Regions from separate parts of the Homo sapiens genome. Here regions 1, 2, 4 and 5 are each linked to region 3. The links are contacts of gene promoters, found by promoter capture Hi-C in human tissues and cell types (Jung and others, 2019). All regions are on one chromosome and are shown on one strand. The core of a region is centred on a gene start or on the middle of the fragment in contact, and the rest is flanking DNA. Distances in the headings are between cores, read along the strand shown. Region 1 overlaps TUBA8 (tubulin alpha 8). Region 2 holds the start of LOC105372853 (a long non-coding RNA gene). Region 3 holds the start of ATP6V1E1 (ATPase H+ transporting V1 subunit E1). Region 4 overlaps MICAL3 (microtubule associated monooxygenase, calponin and LIM domain containing 3). Region 5 has its middle 16 kb from the start of CECR2.

The links. The method cuts DNA at HindIII sites, captures the fragments that hold promoters and counts their contacts. A contact is called where the count stands out against the background at its distance.
Region 1: a contact is called between a fragment that was not itself captured here and the fragment with the promoter of ATP6V1E1 in region 3, in 1 of the 25 tissues and cell types used here (lymphoblastoid cells).
Region 2: a contact is called between a fragment that was not itself captured here and the fragment with the promoter of ATP6V1E1 in region 3, in 1 of the 25 tissues and cell types used here (lymphoblastoid cells).
Region 4: a fragment that was not itself captured here is called in contact with the fragment with the promoter of ATP6V1E1 in region 3 in 1 of the 25 tissues and cell types used here (lymphoblastoid cells).
Region 5: a fragment that was not itself captured here is called in contact with the fragment with the promoter of ATP6V1E1 in region 3 in 1 of the 25 tissues and cell types used here (lymphoblastoid cells).

The regions. Positions count from the first base shown.
Region 1 is chr22:18,129,156-18,131,904 of GRCh38, reverse strand. It overlaps TUBA8 (tubulin alpha 8), which reads right to left. Exons shown (of 5, transcript NM_018943.3): 5 at 173-1,062. The coding sequence ends at 769. Among named protein-coding and RNA genes, the nearest start is that of USP18, 20 kb to the left of the region's middle. The HindIII fragment of the contact is 4,128 bases long and covers 1-2,749 here.
Region 2 is chr22:18,053,703-18,056,533 of GRCh38, reverse strand. It overlaps LOC105372853 (a long non-coding RNA gene), which reads right to left and starts at 575. Exons shown (of 6, transcript XR_001755424.2): 1 at 417-575. The HindIII fragment of the contact is 9,258 bases long and covers 1-2,831 here.
Region 3 is chr22:17,627,367-17,630,148 of GRCh38, reverse strand. ATP6V1E1 (ATPase H+ transporting V1 subunit E1) reads left to right here and starts at 1,400. Exons shown (of 9, transcript NM_001696.4): 1 at 1,400-1,546. The coding sequence starts at 1,514. It also overlaps a transcript of BCL2L13 not described here. RefSeq lists enhancers at 1,275-1,444, 1,386-1,475, 1,556-1,705. The HindIII fragment of the contact is 10,651 bases long and covers 1-2,782 here.
Region 4 is chr22:17,928,042-17,930,741 of GRCh38, reverse strand. All of the region lies in intron 1 of MICAL3 (microtubule associated monooxygenase, calponin and LIM domain containing 3), which reads left to right. Among named protein-coding and RNA genes, the nearest start is that of MIR648, 52 kb to the left of the region's middle. The HindIII fragment of the contact is 3,175 bases long and covers 1-2,700 here.
Region 5 is chr22:17,352,102-17,354,801 of GRCh38, reverse strand. It overlaps the pseudogene RN7SL843P. Among named protein-coding and RNA genes, the nearest start is that of CECR2, 16 kb to the left of the region's middle. The HindIII fragment of the contact is 4,750 bases long and covers 1-2,700 here.

The DNA.
Region 1 (2,749 bases), core at 186-2,685, 500 kb before region 3:
CTCTGCAGACGCTCCAAGCTTGTTCCTAGCTTTTGCACTTGCTTCTCCCTGCACCTAGCATCCTTTTGCACGGCCCAGGCCTCCATGAGGCTGTCTTGACCACGCAGTCCACAGGAGCACGCCCAGACACTCTCTCACCACTGCTTTTTACTTTCTCTCACTTGACACCAGCTGACATGATCTCATTCACTTTATTTATGTGTGTATGAGGGCAGGAAATGTGTTCGTCTCGCTTATCACCAACTCTCCAGCTCTCAGTGCCTAGGACAGGGTGTGTATTGGAATATGTGATGGGGGAGTGAATGCATGCTAAGTCTAGATGATGCCCGGAGCGGGCTATAGACCCACTCATGTGAACGTCCGCTCACCCCTGCCCCGGAATCTTCCCAGGCCCAGATCTCCCCTTTCTCTGAGTGTTCCCACTCCCCAGCCAGCAGGCCATGTTTTGGGGCTGGACCCAGCCCGATCTGGAATTGAAACTCCTGATTAGGCCTCCTCGCATGTGAAACTGGGCTGCAGCCTCACCCGCCGGAGACAGTGGCCCTCACTTTCTTTAGTGACACAAAGCTGCTCCTACCCAGGGAGGGCCTGATGAAGCTCAGTGTCCACTTAGCCCAGTCGTGCCACCCTGGGTACTGGGGCCAGGCACCCTCCTCCTGGGTAAGGCAGGAATCAGGCTGGGGCGGGGAGAGTGTTCTGTTCTCTTGAACATGTGCTTTGAATGGCACAGCATAAATAAAGAGACACAGCCAAGGGGAAGGTATATATTTAAAATTCCTCCCCTTCATTTTCTTCTTCAAACGAATCAGTCCCCACTTCTTCATAATCCTTCTCCAGGGCAGCTAAGTCTTCCCTGGCCTCAGAAAATTCTCCTTCTTCCATCCCCTCTCCCACATACCAATGCACAAAGGCCCGCTTGGCGTACATGAGGTCGAACTTGTGGTCGAGGCGGGCCCAGGCCTCCGCAATGGCCGTGGTGTTGCTGAGCATGCAGACGGCCCGCTGCACCTTGGCCAGGTCTCCCCCGGGGACCACGGTCGGGGGCTGGTAGTTGATGCCCACCTGAGGGACACAGAAAGAGGAGGAGCCACAGAAGAAGATACAAGTCAGCCAGAGGATAACTCAGGATGGGACATCTTGGTCACTTGGCATGGCTTCAAGTCATGGTCAGGGGCGTGGGAGTGGGGCTATGGGATGCAACAGGCGGGATGGGACTGGGGAAGCCAGCAGGTGGCAAGGGAGAAGCTGAAGAGAAAGTGGAAGCAGGCAGGGCAACAGAGCAAAAACCCATCTCTACCAAAAAAAAAAAAAAAATTAGCCAGGCCCGGTGGCTATGCCTACTAGTCCCAGCTACTCAGGGAGGCTGAGGTGGAAGGATCACTTGAGCCCATGAGGTCAAGGCTGCAGTGAGCTACAGTGGTTCCACTGCACTCCAGTGGCAGGGACACAGCAAGACCCTGTCTCTTAAAAGCAAAACAAAAAAAAAAGTAGATGGGGAAGGGCTGGGCAATCAAAGGCTAGAGAAGGAGGACAGGGCTGGTATAGGGGGCTCAGCAAGTAGGCAAATGAGAGTCACGAGCGACATTAGGAGCGGGTGGGAGGTGTCTGGTACATGTGTATGTGTAACAGGGAAACGCATTCTAGATTCAAAGCTGTTCAAAAGTGTACTCTCTCCCAAGTGGTCATCTGAAGTTCCTCTTAGTTGTGTTGCGAGTAAATTTAAGGAAGTTTCCCTGCCAAGAGTGAAAACTGTTGGAAGAGGTCACAGGGATATTCCAGAGCAATAAATAAAGAGAGCCGAAAGGCCCCGGGATGGTGTTGGCGTTAACCAGGCTCTAGGTTTTTGGGAATTGGGGCTTCTTAGAAGAAAAGCAGGGTCTCCAATCCAAGAAGGTTGTTGAAGGTCTTGCCAAGTTCTGGCAGCATGGCAGGTCTCCCAGGCTCAGCCCAGACCCGTCTTACAGTGGTGCTGCTATCCTGGAAATCTCTCTTCTTCCCAACACACGTCCCAAACCAAAGCCAACCCCAGGAACCATGGGAAACTGGGACAAGTCTAATGTGGCAAACCGTGACATTACTTATGAGAACTATAGTGATGTCCTCAGCCACCTCTCCCACTGAGACCACCACATTTTAATCGCCAGTCTCTTAAATCCATAGCTTTAAAATGCACATCCTCCTGAGGGGCTGGTGTGGGAATGGCAGCCAGCTGTGTGGCAACATGGGTAGCCAGGCAGCCACTGGACCCACAGCAGCCGTCATTCCTCTTAGGCACAGGTGGCATCTTGGAGGTGGAGGTGATACTGGGAGAGGGGCAAAGTGGGGAAGGGAAAGGCAATGTATATGAATTTGGCCACATCACATACATTGCTAGAACTGAGCCGACTGCCATAAACCTTGTGCCTGGGCCAACCTGTTCTCCTCTAAGTGCTAACATCTCTTGACCTGAGTCAAGTGGGGACAAGTACTGTTGGAGAGAATGCAAGAAGATGAAGTTTAGCAGCATCCTCTCCAGGGAACATACTTTTCTTAGCTTATGCTAATGCTACCATAATGATCCTTCAGGACATAACTCCAGAGCTTCTGCTTTAAGGAGAGAGAATGAGGGGACATTTCCGCTTTGTTAATTTCCCCATCACCCACCATGTCTCTCATTCATTCTCTTTTTTCCCCATTCATTCTCCTACTAGCTGGTTGTTTGTTTCCATTTGAAAAAGAAAAAAGAATTTCATTTTTTGGAAGACCTTGA
Region 2 (2,831 bases), core at 1-2,500, 430 kb before region 3:
AAAAATATTTGTCTCAGCAGATGAGATCACCACACATGGCTCATGATAGAGATCTTTTGTTGCTCCCTTAATTGAAGCTTGGAAGAGAGCAGAAATGACAGCAGAAATCAGACTACTGCCCACAAGGTTCCAATGGGCTGGTCCATGTTTAACTAAGTGCAGCTGAAGTCATGAAGACTTGATACCATCCATCTGAACTGTGGCCTGTGTCTCACTGACATATGGGCCCCGCCCTTCCCATCCACCCCCTTCCTCAGCACCAGACTGGCTATGGCTCACCCACACTGAGCAAATCAGGGGCAAAGCCAGGAAGGGACACACAGCCACGGGCTGAACGCAAGCCTAGGGGCAGGGAAAGGCCGAACAAAGCCCCAGCCTCCACTTTTCAAGGACTTCCTTTTCTGAAGGCTACTCACCGTGTGGGACAGGAGCTGGAGCAGAGCTGGAGACCTCCACCCATAGCCAGTGCCTGCTGCATGCCACATGAGCTCTAGGCATTGGGAATACGGCAGTAAACAAGACAAGTCCCCAGCTCTGGGAGCTAGAGATGAAAGGCTTCGGGGGTGGTTGGAGATAGACAACAGAAATGACGACTAGCCAAGATAATTTATGTACTGATAAGTGTACACTGAACACAAAATGCAGATAGAGGCCGGGCATAGTGGCTCATGCCTGTAATCCCAGACCTTTGAGAGGCCGAGGAGGGAGGATCCATTGAGGCCTGGAGTTTGAGGCTATCATGGAAGGAGGCGGAGCTTGCAGTGAGCTATGATCACACCACTGCACTCTAGCCTGGGTGATAGAGTGAGACCCTGTCTCAAAAACAAAACAAAATGAAACTGCAGCTAGAGAGTGATGTGGGGCTCCTTTAGCCCACAAGGTTAGGGCAGGCCTGTCTGAGCAGGTGTCAAAGTTGCAGCCTGAAAGGTGAGGGGGCTGCTAGGTAGCATGGACCATTGAGTGGAAGGGCTCAGAGTCAGAAAAGAGCTTGGTGTGTTCAGGGGACAAAAAGAAGGCCCATAGGACAGTGCCACGGCGACCAACGGAGAGGAGGGAAAAGAGCGGCAAACGCCGGCAGGGTCAGCTCTGTCACTGCAGGCCACCAGAAAGGGTTTGGATTCTGTTGGGTTTTTTAAGGGGAAGAGTCCTGTGATGTGGCATCTACTTTAGAAAGGCCATTCTTGGGCTGCTTTGTACAGGATGGGCTAGAGGGGGCCAAGAACGGCGATAGGAAGAATAGGTAGGGGTTTTGGTACATGGAAGAGAGGAGGGTGGCCTAGATCTGGGGGGAGGAAGTGGAGGTAGTTAGCAGTGGGAAATGCATTTTGAATGTAAAAAAAATGGAGCAGACTGGCCGGGCGCGGTGGCTCACGCCTGTAATCCCAACACTTTGGGAGGCCGAGGTGGGCAGATCACAAGGGCAGGAGATTGAGACCATCCTGGCTAATATGGTGAAACCCTGTCTCTACTAAAAATACAAAAAATTAGCTGGGCATGGTGGCGGGCGCCTGTAGTCCCAGCTACTCGGGAGGCTGAGGTGGGAGAATGGCGTGAACCCGGAAGGCGGAGCTTGCAGCGAGCCGTGATTGTGCCACTGCACTCCAGCCTGGGTGACAGAGCAAGACTCTGTCTTGAAAAAAAAAAAAAAAGAAGAGGACTTACTAATGGATTCATTGTGAGATGTTAGAGAAAAGCAAAGCAAAGAGTTCAGGGTGAGGTTTTCGTCCTGAGCAACAGGGTAGAGTGGTTTCACTTAGTATGACGGAGGAGACTAGGGAATAAATGGGTTTGGAGTGGTAGGGAAGCAAGTCTTCTGTTTTATTTATTTATGTATTTATTTATTTATTTTGAGACCGAGTCTCACTCTGTCACCCAGGGTGCAGTACAGTGGCATGATCTCGGCTCACTGCAACTTCCACCTCCTGGGTTCAAGCGACTCTCCTGCCCCAGCCTCCCGAGTAGCTGGAACTACAGGCAAGTCTTCTGTTTTAGACATGTCAAGTTTGAGACCTGTTGGGCACCAAGAGAGCACGTAGCCTAGGAGTGCATATGAGTCTGAAGCTCAGCTGGAAGATCAGCAGAAGGTCAAAGGTGAGAGTCATTAGCATGTGTGTGGTTCTTAAAGCCCTGGGGTGGAGGAGCCTAGGACCACAATGTGGAGACAGAAGTGGTGGAAAGACCCAGGACAATTAGAGAACAGGAGGAGGAGGCAGTACAGGAGGCGGAGGCTGTAGCCATTGAGAGAGGAGCTTATGGGTCGGCTGTGGGCCTGGAAGGCCTGGAGAAGAAGCGCTTTGAGAGAGGGTGCTGCTCTGTGTCAAGACATGCAAGAGGCCAGGGGAGGCGACATGGGGTGATTCCCTACTGCCCTGGGGAAGATGGAGGTCAGGGGCAGCCTCCTGAGGAGCCACAAGAGGGGATGGTGGAGACATGAGCCAGGCAGAGTGAGATGAGGAGGGAGTGTGGGGAGGCAGTGCACACAAACTGTGGGATGCTCTGCAGCACCAGGGAGAAGGAAAAGCGGTGAGAGCAGAAGAGGAACGTGCCTCAAGCTCTTTGAACGGGTTGTTGGGCTGCCCCTACCCCACCCAAGTCTACCTTATCAGCCACATTGAGAGGTGACAGCGTGCTGGCAGTCTTCACAGCCCTCGCTCGCTCTCCGTGCCTCCTCTGCCTGGGCTCCCATTTTGGCAGCACTTGAGGAGCCCTTCAGCCCACCACTGCACTGTGGGAGCCCCTTTCTGGGCTGGCCAAGGCCGGAGCCGGCTCCCTTAGCTTGCAAGGAGGTGTGGAGGGAGAGGCGCGAGCGGGAACCGGGGCTGCGCGCGCCG
Region 3 (2,782 bases), core at 151-2,650:
GCTCCTGGGTTGAAGCAATTCTCCTGCCTCAGCCTCTCCAGTGGCTGGGATTACAGGCACACACCACCACGCCTGTTAATTTTGTATTTTTAGTAGAGACTGGGGTTTCTCCATGTTGGTCAGGCTGGTCTCGAAATCCCGACCTCAGGTGATCTGCCCACCTCAGCCTCCCAAAGTGGTGGGATTACAGGCGTGAGACACCGCGCCTGGCCCGGGACAAAGGAAATTAATGTTCAGCCTAGTAAACTAAATTTCCTGAATTTGCTACATCCTCGTTCTTATGACACACTAAAATAGGAAGTGTGTGTGTGTGTGTGTGTGTGTGTGTGTATGAAAATAAAGTGTTAATGTACATGTAGCAAAATGTTAACAATTGTTGAATCTAGGTGAAGGGAGGTCAATGCAGTATTCTTACAAGTTACTATATCTCAAATTTCTTCAAGATAAAAAGCTAATAAAAATGGTGGGTAACCATAGCACAGTAAAAAGAAAAAAGTGGGTGTACCATTTGACCTCTTATTCTACTATTAGGAGTCAGTCTATCCTAAAGATAAAGGAATTTTCAAAAGTTTTTGCCTTTGGGATTTTGGGGAAAAAAACGGGCTTGAGGTAAATCCAAATAAAAACAAATGAGCCTGGGGGGATTTCTGTCCTAATATTCCTCTAAATGGGACCTGGGAAGGCTTTTGAAAAATATATAGGCTATCTCAGAAAAGTTCCAAATAAATTATGTAGCTGCTCCACCCTAATAAGGAAGTTGAGCATAGCTTCCCACTCCCTAGGTGTGGGCTTTGTATAGTGGCTTCCTTCCTAAGACTACAGTATGGAAAGGGGGTTAAAAAAGGTAACTTCAGAGTGGAGAAACCTACAAACCCTACACTTTATTCAGGTAATCAAGGTTGACATGAATAGTCAGAAATCATGTATCCCCCTTTTTTTTTTCTTTTGGTAGAGACGGGGTTCCTCTATGTTGTCCAGCCTGGTCTCGAACTTGAGGTCAAGCGATACACCCGCCTTGGTCTCCCAAAGTCTCCGGATTGCAGGCGTGAGCCACCACGCCCGGCCAACAATCATGTACCCCTAAGCCCATAACCCTGTGTAATTATGCGAAAAATTCCAATAAAGGCACATTCTCCAATATACCTAACCAGTACTCCTCAAAACAGCCCGACTAATTTCAGATAGAGGAACTCCTTATCTTTTCTTCCTCCTACCCAAGATCCCAGTTTAGGAAAAAAATACCGGTCAGGTCACGAGTCAGCGACGTAGAAGGACCCGAGGACGCGCCCACAGGCCGGGACAGGGCGGGACTTCCTGGGCGTCGCTCTCTTCCCATTGGCTGAGAAGGGTCATGAGGATGAACTGTGCAGTCACCTGGCAGGAACCGGAACCCGCGGTTATAAAGTAAAGGAACCCGAGATCTGCGCAGGGGTTCCCTTTGCCGATTTCTCTCACCTCACCTTTCAAACCTAAACTCGAGCCTACTGTTCACCGGCCTAGCATTGCTCTCGCCATGGCTCTCAGCGATGCTGACGTGCAAAAGCAGGTGAGGGGCTTGGTTGGGTCTTACGAAGCCGCGGCGGCAGTCCCGGGGAGTGGGCTGGAGCCCGCCTAGGGAAGGCCGCGGGCCTTGAGCCGCCCAGATGCCGCAGGAAGGTCCCTTGCTCCAAGTCACCAGATCCAAGAGGTCGGCCTGAGGACGGAGATTTGCCCCGCAGCTCATGTGACTTTTGCTCGGGTCTTGGGCACTGCCCGCTTGCCTGCGCGCTGCCTTCTTGAACGCCCTGGCTCTTTGCCTCCCACCTCAGCATTCCCTGTTTTCCAAGGGTATTCACTGTGCCTAGTCGGACAGAGATCTGTGCAAGGATTGAAAACAGCCTTGTGGCCAGGGGCAGTGGCTCACGCCTGTAATCCCAGTATTTTGGGAGGCCGAGGCGGCCGGATCACCTGAGGTCAGGAGTCCGAGACTAGCCTGGCCAAAATGGTGAAACCCCGGTCTCTACTAAAAATAGAAAATTAGCCGGACGTGGTGGCGCGCGCCTGTAATCCCAGCTACTCGGGAAGCTGAACCCGGAGGCGGAGGTTGCAGTTAGCCGAGATCGCGCCTTTGCACTCCAGCATGGGCGACAGGGCGAGACTCCCTCTGGAAAAAGAAAAAAAAAAAACAAACCAGCCTTGTCACTTTTTTTTTTTTTAACCCTGAGGGAAATGCTTAAGGCTATATGATAGGAAACAGTGCGGAGGGAAGAGACCTGCTTCCAACCAGTGTTTTGACAAGGTCGTTCACTTTATGAACTGTGTTTTTTTCTTTTTTTCTTTTTTTTTTTTTTGAGACGGAGTCTCACTCTGTCGCCCAGGCTGGAGTGCAAGGGCGCGATCTCGGCTCACTGCAACCTCCGCCCCGGGTTCAAGTGATTCTCCTGCCTCAGCCTCCCTAGAAGCTGGGATTACAGACTCGCGCCCCAAGCCCGGCTAATTTTTGTATTTTTTTTAGTAGAGGCAGGGTCTCACCATATTGGCCTGGCTGGTCTTGAACTCCTGACCTCAGGTGATCTTCCCACCTGGGCCTCCCAAAGTGCTGGGATTACAGGCATGAGCCAACGCGCCAGGCCTGTATGTACTGTTAATCTTCATTTTGGGGAAGTCCCCTCTATCATAATGGATTGTAATGATTGGTCTCCCACTAATGTGTGTGTTAACATTTGTGAGATACAGGCTGGGGCCGGGCATGGTGGCTCACGTCTGTAATACCAGCACTTTGGGAGGCTGAGGAGGGCGGATC
Region 4 (2,700 bases), core at 66-2,565, 300 kb before region 3:
CTCAGACTCTAACTGGGGGCCCTGGGAGACAGTTCCCAGCTTAACCAAGTTGACACAGCACCACTGTCCAGATCAGGGTCCCAAGTCCCAGCCCTGCCCAGGTAGCCACTGTCTGAGCCGACTTCTGCACCATAGACATAAACTTTGTTCTTGTCTTTGTGTACATGGAGTCGTGCAGTATTTTCTGTCCTGTGTCTGCCCTCTCTTGCCCAGCACTAATCTGTGAGTTTCATCGGTGTGGCTGGATGTTGCAGTAGTTCATTCCTCTTTCCTGCTGTGTGGTATTCCATTGTGTGACTGTAACTGCAGCTTATCATTTTGCTGCTGTTGGTCATTTGAATGTTTCCAATTTTTGAGTATTATGAATAAAGCTGCAATGAGCATTCTTTTACTTGTCTTTTGGCTAACATAAGACATTCATCTCTGTTGGATGTATCCCCAAGAATGGAATTGCTGAGTTTTAGGGTAGATGTGTATGTAGCTTCAAGAACCACTGCTGAACAATTTTCCATAGTGGTTGTACGAGTTCACCACGCGCATTGTCTGAGAGTTCCAGTTGTTCCCTATCGTTGCCTACTCGTGGCATTGTCAGTCTTTAATTTTAGTTATTCTGATGGGTGATAGGATCTCATTATGGTTTTGATGGACTTCCTGTGACTAATATGTTAAACACCTGTTCACATGCCTTGGTGATTTGAGTGTCCTCTTTTGTGATATGCCTGATCAAATCTTCTGCCCGTTTTTCCTTTGGTGTCTGTTTTTTTCCGTATTGGTTTATACAGAATTTTTCTACATTCCAGATATGAGAGTTTTCTTGGTTACACATAGCCCTTTTGCTTTAAAGAGGTTTATTCCTTCTGAAATGGAGCATAGAGGCCGGGCGCAGTGGCTCACGCCTGTAATCCCAGCACTTTGGGAGGCCAAGGCGGGTGGATCACCTGAGGTCAGGAGTTCGAGACCAGCCTGGGCATCAGGTGAAACCCTGTCTCTACTAAAAATACAAAAAATTAGCCAGGCGTGGTGGCGGGCATCTGTAGTCCCAGCTACTCAAGAGGCTGAGGCAGGAGAATGGCATGAACCCGGGAGGCGGAGGTAGCAGTGAGCCGAGATAGCGCCACTGCACTCCAACCTGGGCAACAGAGCAAGACCCTGTCAAAAAAAAAAAAAAAAAAAGAAAAGAAAAGGAAAGAAAGAAAAATGAAATAGAGCACAGATGGGTTTCAGGCCTGTTTACAGAGGGGAGCCTTTGGAAAAAATGTTGTTACTTATCGGTCTTTTTTCAGGAATTGGAAGTTAAATAACCCAACTTACACATGGTTTTAAAAACAAAATATTGGAGGCTGGGCATGGTGGCTCATGCCTCTTAATCCTAGCACTTGGAGAGACCAGGACAGGAGGATTGCTTGAAGCCAGGAGTTTGAGATTAGCCTGTGCAACAGAACTAGACTTTGCCTCTAAAAAAAAAAAAAAAAAAAATTAGCCAGGCGTGGTGGTGCACATCTGTAGTTCCATCTACTTGGGAGGCTGAGGTAGGGGGAATTGTTTGACCCAGGAGTTTGAGGTTACGGTGAGCTATGATGGCATCACTACACTCCAGCCTGGCAGACAGAGGGAGACTCTTTCTTTAAAAAAGGAAAAAAAAAAAAAAGGGCCGGGCACCGTGGCTCATGCTTGTAATCCCAGCACTTTGGGAGGCCGAGGCGGGCAGATCACAAGGTCAGGAGTTCGAGACCATCCTGGCTAACACAGTGAAACCCCATCTCTACTAAAAATACAAAAATTAGCCAGGCGTGGTGGCGGGCGCCTGTAGTCCCAGCTACTTGGGAGGCTGAGGCAGGAGAAAGGCGTGAACCCGGGAGGTGGAGCTTGCAGTGAGCGGAGATCACGACACTGCACTCCAGCCTGGGTGACAGAGTGAGACTCCGTCTTAAGAAAAAAAAGTTCTAAGGGTGCCAGTCATTTGTCACATCAGGGTTGTGTCATTACAGTGATTATGGTCACCCCCCTATGGGGCATGTAACACAATATATAAAGCCACGGTATGAAACATCTAAGTGTTCTGGTTGTTCATCGTATCAGGGCAGTGTTATTTCAAGGAGTGAATGTGTCCACCAAAGCGTGGTGCATGTACTGCATTACGTAAAGTTGGCTTTATGTTTCTTAAGTGCTCCTTGCACATGTGAATCACAGTAGTCTTATCTCAGTGAGTGAATGTGTTCACCACACTAGATATATCTCATACACTACATGAAGACGCATGCAGACAGGTGTTTCTTTCTTTCTTTCTTTCTTTCTTTTTTTTTGAGACGGAGTCTTGCTGTTTCGCCCAGGCTGGTGTGCAGTGGTGCAATCTTGGCTCACTGCAAGCTCCGCCTCCCGGGTTCACGCCATTCTCCTGCCTCAGCCTCCTGAGTAGCTGGGACTACAGATGCCCGCCACCACGCCCCGCTAATTTTTTGTATTTTTAGTAGAGGCGGGGTTTCACCGTGTTAGCCAGGATGGTCTCGATCTCCTGACCTCGTGATGCGCCCGCCTCGGCCTCCCAAAGTGCTGGGATTACAGGCATGAGCCACCGCGCCCGGCCCACGGACAGGTGTTTCTAACAGTACTATTCCTCGCATCAGGTAGCGTTCCTGCAGTGGGTGAATGTGTCCACCACGCTATGCTGCATATAGTAAAGTATGGCAAGACACATGTAAA
Region 5 (2,700 bases), core at 200-2,699, 280 kb after region 3:
AAATTAACTTCCCTTGCTTTTAACTTAAGATGAGGAGTAAATAATTATATAGCCTAAAGCTACCTGCACCAATTACAGTAAAAACTATTTGTCTTATTTATTACAATACACAAAGTCCTAGTCTGTATAAGCTATACTCATTATTTTACCCCAAAAAGAAAAAATTTGGTCAGGCCCGGTGGCTCACGCCTGTAATCTCAGCACTTTGGGAGGCTGAGGTGGGCAGATCACTTGAGGCCAGGAGTTTGAGACCAGCCTGGCCAACATGGTGAAATCCTGTCTCTACTAAAAATACAAAAAGTAGCCGGCATGGTGGCGTGCACCTGTAATCCCAGCTACTCAGGAGGTTGAAGCAGGAGAATCATTGAACCCAGGAGGCAGAGGTTGCAGTGAGATCACACAACTGCACTCCAATGGGGGTGAGAGAGTGAGACTCTGTCTCACAAAAAATAAAAATAAAAAAAAAGAAGGAAAGAAAAAAATTTTCCTTTTTATGAATACAACTGTGGGATTGACATTGTTTTCCAATTTGATTTCCCCAATCATATTTTTCCCCATATTTTGGGGAATAATAATATGAATAATAATTTTCATATTATTCCCCCATAAATATTTACTAAACAGTTACTATGTTTTAAGCATTGTTGTAAGAGTTGAAGACCTAGAAATTCCTATGAACTTCAAATCTATTATGTGTATACTTTCATTATTTTTAAAGTTAATCAGGTTTCCCTATCACCTTCTATCTTCATTAACGACAACTGAAGCAGAGTCTGTGAGATTCTTGTCTTTGCGTGGCTGAAAAACTAAAAGGTTTTTGGACATTTAGTAGGAAGAGACCTGTTGGTGAAAAAGGAAAAGGATGGGGGGCACCCTGTGACAACTGTGGTTATTCTTGCATAGAGATGGATATGATTATGCTGTTAGGTTTAATCATGCTAAAAAACATGGCATTCCTGGTAAATCGCAGTCAGTCCAGAAGACAGCTTCTGACGTGCCCTCCTAAACCACAGAAACATTAGCTAATGTGTGATGACCTCTAAAAACATTCTGGCTGCGCTGGGCGCGGTGGCTCACGCCTGTAATCCCAGCACTTTGGGAGGCCGAGGTGGGCAGATCACGAGGTCAGGAGATCGGGACCATCCTGGCTAACACGGTGAAACCCCATCTCTACTAAAAATACAAAAATTTAGCCGGGTGTGGTGGCAGACGCCTGTAATCCCAGCTACTCGGGAGGCTGAGGCAGGAGAATGGCATGAACCCGGGAGGCAGAGCTGGCAGTGAGCCGAGATCGCGCCACTGCACTCTAGCCTGGGTGACAGAGCGAGACTCCATCTCAAAAAAAAAAAAAAATTCTGGCTGCACACACCAACATGGAACACGTATACATATGTAACAAACCTGCACGTTGTGCGCTTGTACCCTGGAACTTAAAAGTATAATTAAAAAAATCAAAAAACAAAACAAAACGACAACAACAACAAAAATATTCTGGCTGCAGTGGCTCATGTCTATAATCTCAGCACTTTGGGAGGCCGAGGCAGGAGGATTGATTGAGCCCAGGGTTTCAAGAACAGCCTGAGCAAAATAGTGAGACCCTGTCTCTACGGAAAAAAAAAACATAGCCAGGTGTGATAGTACATGCCTGCGGCCTCAGCTACATGGGGGGCTGAGGCGGGAGGATCAGTTTAGCTTGGGAGTTCTGGGCTATAGTTCACTATGCCAACTGGGTATTCACACTAGGTTCAACATCAGTATGGTGACCTCCTGGGAGCAGAGAACCAGGAGGTTGCCCAACGAGGGGTGAATGGGTTCAGGTCAGAAACAGAAGAGTCAAAGGTCCTATGCTGATCAGCAATGGCATTCTGCCTGTGAATAGCCACTGCACTCTGCCTGGGCAACATAGCAAGACCTCATCTCTAAAAAGTAGTAAATAAATAAATAAAAATAAAAACACTCTGATCTAATGGCCCATCCCTGCCAGACTAAATAACAGGAGTTAGCAAGCTTCTTAATTAATGGTAGAAAAGACAAATCTCCAGAAACAATCTATTGCAAAGGTTGGGAACTGTGGAAATGTCTCTAATAGTTACAGGCCCCAAATTAGTCCCCTGGCCTTGTGAGCGCATCTCATGTGCCCATTTGAAACTCAACTGCAATCAAATTTCCTGGCTAAAGGCTGGATGGTGAAGTGTAAAAAATAGTGTCTTCACCTTAAAATTCATAACAAATGGCACAGAGTAGCATTTCTTTTTTTTTTTTTTTTGAGACGGAGTCTCACTTTGTCACCCAGACTGGAGTGCAGTGGCGTGATCTCGCCTCACTGCAACCTCTGCCCCTGGGTTCAAGCGACTCTCATTCTCAGCCTCCTGAGTAGCTGGGATTACAGGCGCACACCACCATGCCTGGCTAATTTTTGTATTTTCAGTAGAGACAGGGTTTCACCATGTTAGTCAGACTGGTCTCAAACTCCTGACCTCGTGATCCACCCGCCTCGGCCTCCCAAAGTGTTGGGATTACAGGTGTAAGCCACCAAGTCCGGCCCAGAGTAGCATTTCTTGTTGGCGGTTGGGACTGAGGCCAAAATGGAGATGACAGAACCATCAAAGTGGGGGGAGTTCTGGGGGGATGGTCAGTGATTGGTCAACAGTGGTTGAAGAATGAAAGATTGTATATAGGCCAGGCAGTGGCTCACGCCTA